2 separate regions of the Homo sapiens genome follow, and region 1 is linked to region 2. Evidence: promoter capture Hi-C in human tissues and cell types (Jung and others, 2019). All regions are on one chromosome and are shown on one strand. Each heading gives the region's core, a stretch centred on a gene start or on the middle of the fragment in contact. The rest is flanking DNA. Distances are from core to core; before and after follow the strand shown. Region 1 overlaps LINC02988 (long intergenic non-protein coding RNA 2988). Region 2 holds the start of MTMR11 (myotubularin related protein 11).

The links. Contacts are between HindIII fragments. The study calls those that stand out against the background at their distance.
Region 1: a contact is called between a fragment that was not itself captured here and the fragment with the promoter of MTMR11 in region 2, in 1 of the 25 tissues and cell types used here (bladder).

The regions. Positions count from the first base shown.
Region 1 is chr1:150,160,754-150,164,026 of GRCh38, forward strand. It overlaps LINC02988 (long intergenic non-protein coding RNA 2988), which reads left to right. Exons shown (of 4, transcript NR_135098.1): 1 at 1-57. Among named protein-coding and RNA genes, the nearest start is that of LINC02988, 1.7 kb to the left of the region's middle. RefSeq lists enhancers at 1-44, 2,393-2,582 and silencers at 655-724, 1,313-1,382. The HindIII fragment of the contact is 7,641 bases long and covers 1-3,273 here.
Region 2 is chr1:149,935,124-149,938,573 of GRCh38, forward strand. MTMR11 (myotubularin related protein 11) reads right to left here and starts at 1,756. Exons shown (of 17, transcript NM_001145862.2): 1 at 1,459-1,756; 2 at 1,031-1,106; 3 at 461-582; 4 at 176-236; 5 at 1-5. The coding sequence starts at 1,524. OTUD7B (OTU deubiquitinase 7B) reads right to left here. Exons shown (of 12, transcript NM_020205.4): 12 at 2,689-3,450. RefSeq lists an enhancer at 1,022-1,546. The HindIII fragment of the contact is 18,071 bases long and covers 1-3,450 here.

The sequences.
Region 1 (3,273 bases), core at 747-3,246, 230 kb after region 2:
CCACCACCCTCCCAGCCACCTCTGAAGTTGCCAGGCTTCCCAACATTCTTGTCTGTGGTAGGTCCCACACAACTCACTGTTCACTCTTTCCTTGGAAGTGTGTGAGATGAGGTTTAGTAACGGTGAGGTCCCCAGAAGAGCTATGAAGGGAATAATTTGATTTTGGGAAAGAAGGGGACAGAGTCTCATGAATCAAGTAAATGAGGGGTTAAAAGCCACATTGAAGTGTGCCTTGCTAGCTGCTTGATCCTCCAAGAGCAGCGGGGCTTCACTAGAGGTAAGGGGAGGAGGGGGAGGAAACGGGGCCAAGTTACATGTAGACCTGGCCATGACGCTGCCCCGATGTTATAGGAAGATGGGATAGGAGGAAGCGGGGGAAAAACCTGTGGGAGAAACAGATTCTTCAGTCCGCATTCTTCTGCTCTAACGTCACTCCTACAACCCATGTAAGCAAAATGGGGGCCTCTGTCCCCTTTCCAGAAATCATCTCTTTCCTTCACAGCTCTTCTCTGGACCTTATCACTGCTGTTAAACCATCCCTAGGGCAGAGGAATTCTTGCTCTCTCTAGTCCCTTGCCACTCTGTCATGGAGATTGTCCCCAGCTCTAGACTGTAGTTACCTAGCCTCTTCCTTGAAGAATGTGTATCCCAGTTGAGTGAGGGAAAGTGTGCAAGAGTGCCACCTTCATGTCATTCTATGGTCTCTTGGGGTATGAGGTGAGAACCCAGGCTTCCAGACTTCCTGTCCTTCAAATAGCTGCACTCTCCACAGCCCTAAGCATGGTCAGCAGAGCCATCCATTGTCACAAGTATTGAAGTCTAAGGTAGAATTATGCTTTCTTTTTACAAGTCTCTATCTTTGTATTTTACCAGCATTTTTCCTTTTCTTTTTTTCTTCCTTGTTGCTCCCACATAATGAAAAAAGACAAAAGCACAAATGACATGTGTATCCCAACATGTCAATTATCTGTGGCTCCCAGGGGAGCCAGAAGATGGAGGGAGACACTAGAGAGGAGAATGACAGGTGAAAGAAGCAGAAAAGAAAGATCGGGGACCTCACAACAGTAAGAGAGGAGCTGGGCACTGTGCTCCTGGGCTTCAGGCTCTAAAACCAACAGCTTCCAGTTCTCCAGCAGTTACTGGAACATCCAGGCCCTAGGGTGGTGAAATGAGCCCAGCTTTGAAACCAGATGGATCTGGATTCAAATTCTAACTCTGTTACTTCTTGATTATGAGGCTCTGGGCAAGGCACATGCTTTCCGAGTATCAGTTTTTTTCATCTGCAAGCTGCAGAGCTATTGGATGGGTGAGGACAATATGGAAAATGCCTGTCAGTCAGAAAGTGACCACTGCAGCTACTGTTACTGGTTTGACTCTGGGCAGTGAGCCGCTAGCTCAGTTGGAAGGAGCACTGTGTGAATGAGGCCACCGGGGTGGGGTCACTGTCACTTAGCTAGATCCAGGCCACAGGCTGTGCTGGACCTCTCTCTTCAGAGGAGAGAGCCAGAAGGGATGAAAGCATGGTCCCTGGTCTTCAAGAACTTTAGAGCTTAGCATGGAACCAGGCTTCCCACTAGAAAAATCGCTTAAGGTGCACCCTTGTGGTAGGCTGCTGGCATGAGTTCTGTTGAAGCATTTGTATTGAACCTGGGCACTGTGACAGGAGGATGGGAAGGTGCTTACGTTCATTTCCCTTCCTCCCAGTGCTTCTCCTCCCTCACTTCATCATTTTAGCCCCTCTGCCTGCAATATTTCCCTTCCGTGCCCCCGGTAACTGTGATGCGTGGCAAATGGGCTGGCTCAGTAGCTGTGTGGGGCAACTTTCTCAGCACACAGCTGCCCCCAGACACTTTCAGGGTGCACTTATTCTCCCTCCCTTTCCACTCCCAACCGCTCTGCTCCCTTCTTTTCTTACACAGATGAAGCAAAGGGAAGTGCCCTCCGGAGGCCCTAGGATGGGGAGACGGGGTAAGGGGTGGAACCCAGGACACAGAGTTGAGAGGGGGTGAGGGGTAGAGGCAGGTAAAGAACGAAATCTTAATTCTCATTTCAGTGACACTTTCCTCAACTTTTCCTGTCCTTCCCCATCAGGTTGTTAGCCAGGGGCCTGAGGAGGGATAAAGGAACTGCAGTCCCGGCTCCCTCCATTAGGAAGAATGTCTGGGGTGTTGGCCTGGAACGCTGATGAGTTGATTTCCTTCTATCTCCACAGCATAGGTTTACCAGGGAGAAAAGAAAGGTGCAAATTTCTCTAACTCCTGCCCTGGTCCTCACATACTATGCGGTTCTGAGCCTAGAGCTCTGTCCCTGGGGAAACAGCTCTCGCCTCCTTCCCCAGCCGCTCTCCCAACCCCTCTGCCAGTAATAAATTTGCCTCATTCTCCCAGGAAATGAGTCTCTAAGAATCTCTCTTCTATCTAAACCTCACAGGCAAGCAGTCCCAGCCCACTTCTGCAACCCTCAAGCTCAGCTACTGCCCCCACCCCCCACTTCGTCACTCCCTTCTCTACGCTGGGTTCCTTTCTCTTTCTGCTTTCTTACTACCTCCCTGTCTCCCAACAGGAGCAGCCAATCCCCAGCCTGCTCTAGAGCCACGCCATATATGGAGAGGTTGGAAAGAAACCCGAGTAAATGCAGGAGCGAACACACACACACACTCATACTCATGCACATACTCATGCACACACAGCAGAGTTTGACCGCCTTTCTGCATGTGACCCTGTGTCTATTTGTCTCTGTGTGACACAAGTCCCACCCACAGAATGAGGAGGCTGTTTGCTATTCCCCACCTTTAGTCGTGCCCCAGGAGACCATCACTCCAACCCGTTGCCTCTGACCTAGATTCCTTGCACTAATTACAAGCCTAACAAGAGCTAACAAACACCCCACTTAGAACAGCTGAGACCCTCGAGGTCAATTAGTGCAGCCCAGCTCTGCTCAGGAAATGAGAGATAGAGCCAGAAAGTCTTGTACATGGCCCACCCCAACCTCACCCCAACCCTGGGGTTGGAAGCAAGGATGGGGAGAATGCAAAAATTAGCAGGACCAGTTTAAAAACGGGGTTTTGGAGGGTTAAAAAGTGTGGAGAACACACTTGTTAAGTGCATTAAGGTTGGGGAGCAATTGGAGAATACAGATTCCCAACTCCTCCTGAACTATCAGAAGTGTAGAGGCTGGTGCAGCTACAGAAACCATGGACATAAGGCGGCTTTCATAAGGACTTAATATGAGGAAAAGTAACTCATAGAAAGGCAAGTAGCACTAGAACTCTTG
Region 2 (3,450 bases), core at 506-3,005:
GCTCACTGAAGTCAAGAGGTACAGAACAGTGTAACCATGGACCAGAGTCTCTCCAGAAGGGACTCTTGCAGCCCATCCCACTCCATCCCTGCTGTTTTCTGAGAACAGAGGAAGGATGAGGAGGGAGTTCCAACAACCCCAGTGAACCCCTTCACCAAACCCCCCCCCAACTTACCAGCCTCTAATCGTCCAATGTTGACCAGGGCAAAATCGTATTCACTGTTCAAGGGAGTGTCCTAGACGAAACACGTGACTGGGTAGACATCTGAAATCGCCCTCATTTTCCTACCCTGGCAGCCCCAACCCCTTCTAGGGGGCAACAACCCTAGAGAGAGTTCCCACTGATTATCAATGATACATTCAAAAGACAGCCCTTAACCCATAATGTTTGTCTAAATCCTGCTAGACTCCCCTACCCATTTCCCACTAGCTGTCATTTCTGTGGCCCCAACCATCTCACCTGATTCCACTGCCATCCACAGGGCTGGAAGGTGACCCTAAAGTTGGTACAGATCAGGGTTCCAGACAATTCTGGTTCCAGGCCCTTCCTCACCCCTGGGGCCCATGCTAGGATCTGCTCCCCTAAAGGGGAAGAAGGGAAGCCCTGTTATGACTGTTCCCAGTGTTGCCCACACTTGGATACACCCACCCCTCCAAGAAAGGGAGATCTAAATAGGGAAGATTAAAATCCTCCCCAAAGCCCACTACAATGTAAGCTTATGAGGAAAGATAAATGTTTTTTAATTTCTGTAACTAGAACAGAGCCTAGAACAAGGCCTGGCACATAGCAGGCACTAACTATGTATCGAATAAGTAAATTTGAAAAGGGGTAACAGGGTCAAGGAAACAGAAGGAATGTCAAGGTCCAGCTCTCAGCCAGCTCTAGAGGCTGTCAGGGAGGACAGCGAGCCTCAGGCAGACGTACTTCGAGCCACGAGAGGAACACAGGGGTATCTTTGGTGAGGGCATGAAACAAGATTGGCGTAGGATGAAATTTGGAAGTCTTTGGAGAGTGATAGGGCATTATTACCTGGGAGGCATCTGGAGGCCAGGCAACTGCTAGGCTGACGACTCCTGGGCTCCGGCATCCTATTTTCCTGGACAGACTTTGGTCCAGAGGGTTGAGGGGGGTCTAGAGTTAACCCCTAGGCTCCCCAACTCCCCAGAGGCAGCTGCCTGTAGAGGCCTACACTCACACTCTCGGGGGAAACTGAGATCAGTGTCTGTGGGGAGCTCCAGACCTAACAGGGCTGGTAAACAGTAAAGGGAGGGGCTGGTTAATGGATAATGAGACAACGAACTTGAGACTGAGAAAGACGGACCAGGCTCCATCAGCAGAAGCTGATAGACAGACACACCCTCCTCCTCCTCCTCTAGAGCCTTTGCTTCCCCCTTTTATCTCCACCTCATCCCCGTTCTCACCCTCTTGCCGACACCCCCCAAATTCCTTCTCCTTACCCCCATCTCTGGCTCCTCCTTCTGGGGGGCAATGTTGAAACTCTGGCCCCGGCCCCCCCACCACATTTCTCTGGCTCCATCCGGGGACACAGCAGTTAAGGGTGGGAAACCTCAAGGATGCTCACCCACCTCGGGGAGAGGCTGAGTCTTGTTGAGAAGAGGGGTGTTAGGGAGAGGGGTAGGGGGTTGGACACAAGGGAAAGGAGCATTTGACGTGCACGGAGCAGAGTTTGGGGGTCCTTGGAAAGGTGTGTCCAGCCCAGCCTGAGAAGTCTCCTCGGAAACTTCAGTCGACTCTGGAGAGGGCGGGAGAGATGCCCAACCCCTTAAAGGAGAATACACACAATTCTGGAAAAGTGGAGAGGAAACGGTGGAGTCTGAGACGGACGGGTGGGGAAGAAATGGGGACTGAGAGAAAAACGACTCCCTTCTTTACCCCAATCCCAGACCCTGTTCTCTTCCTGTTCATGAGTACTGGAGACCGTTTGAGGGGAGCAGTTCTATTGATTATGAAGCTGGAATCATCTGGGCTACCTGTCTGGAGTGTCTCAGTGATGACTTCCCTTAAAAGCTCCGTTCTTTTGTCTTCTCAAAGGGGTTTGGGGCGGGGAGAGGGGTAGGAATGTGAAAGTGGTTCAAGCCTCCTTGCCGCCTCTTCCAGAAGAAAATGAAAATTAGACCTGGGGGGATTTTTGTCAGCAGAGGCCCAAGAATTAGGTGAGGAAGCAGGGAAACTGGTTAAAGTGGTTTTGCATATCTTTCTCTAGAGGGCATGACACAGACATCATGTGAAGACTGCAGTGGAGAAGTATAAAAAGAGATGGAAATGTGTCCAAGATGCAGACACAAGTACAGTTTGTGTGCAAGTCTTGGGGATGTGGGTGGGACAAAAAGATCTTACCAGTTAATCTTGCCCATCACGTAGATACACAACCAATAGGCAATAAGTGCCCATTCCCGTATGTGACTCCACCCCTCCAACCCAGACACCAGATCTCCAAATGAATGATTCATGTTCAGGACTTTCACAGGTGAGGGCTGGAAACCTCTCTTCAGCTCAGCAGTCCATCCCCCGTCCCTCCCATCTGCAACCCTAGAAGCAAAGATGGGTAAGGAAAGCTGGGAACAAGGAGAGAAGGAGCTGCAGCTCCTTTAAAGGAGGGGGACTTGGGGACAGCAAAGCAAAAATCTTTATTTAGACATGAAAAAGACAGAAAATAAAATACAAAATAAGAGTTAATGAGCTGCTGTTTTATTGCTTTTGAATCTACAGAGGCAGCAATCCTTAGATGGGGGCCCCAGTTTTCCAAAGTGACACTCAATTTTCCCCTCCCCCCAGTACACCACCCTTCTGGCCTCAGCTTTCAGTTTCCTGTCTTGGCTGCAACTGTGGAAATAGTGAAGATATTGTGAGACAGAAAGTCAGTCTGGAACAAAGAGGTATACACCTGCTAAGAAGGTGGCCCAGAAGCCTGATTCTAGAAGTCCTAAAGGCTACAGAGCACCACCACCCCACCTGCCCCTAATGCATTCCATGGGCCTCAACCTCTTGGGGGAAGAAAATATTTCCCAAGGTCTGTTGTAAAAAGAAAATAGGGACCAGGCGCAGTGGCTCACGCCTGTAATCCCAAGCATTTTGGAAGGCCAAGGCAGGCAGATTACTTGAGGTCAGGAGTTCAGGACCACCTGGCCAACATGATGAAGCCCCATCTCTACTGAAAATACAAAAATTAGCCAGGCGTGGTGGCTCACACCTATAATCCCAGCTACTTGGGAGGCTGAGGCAGGAGAATCGCTTGAACCCAGGAAGCAGAGGTTGCAGTGAGCCAAGATCTAATGACTACGCTCCAGCCTGGGCAACAGAGCAAGACTCCATCGCAAAAAAAAAAAAAAAAAAAAAGACATAGGAAGAGGTGTGTACCATAACTTTTAAATCCCATTATCCACTTTCCTTCTCACCACCATCCTTCATTCAAGAGCCTCATTCTATTC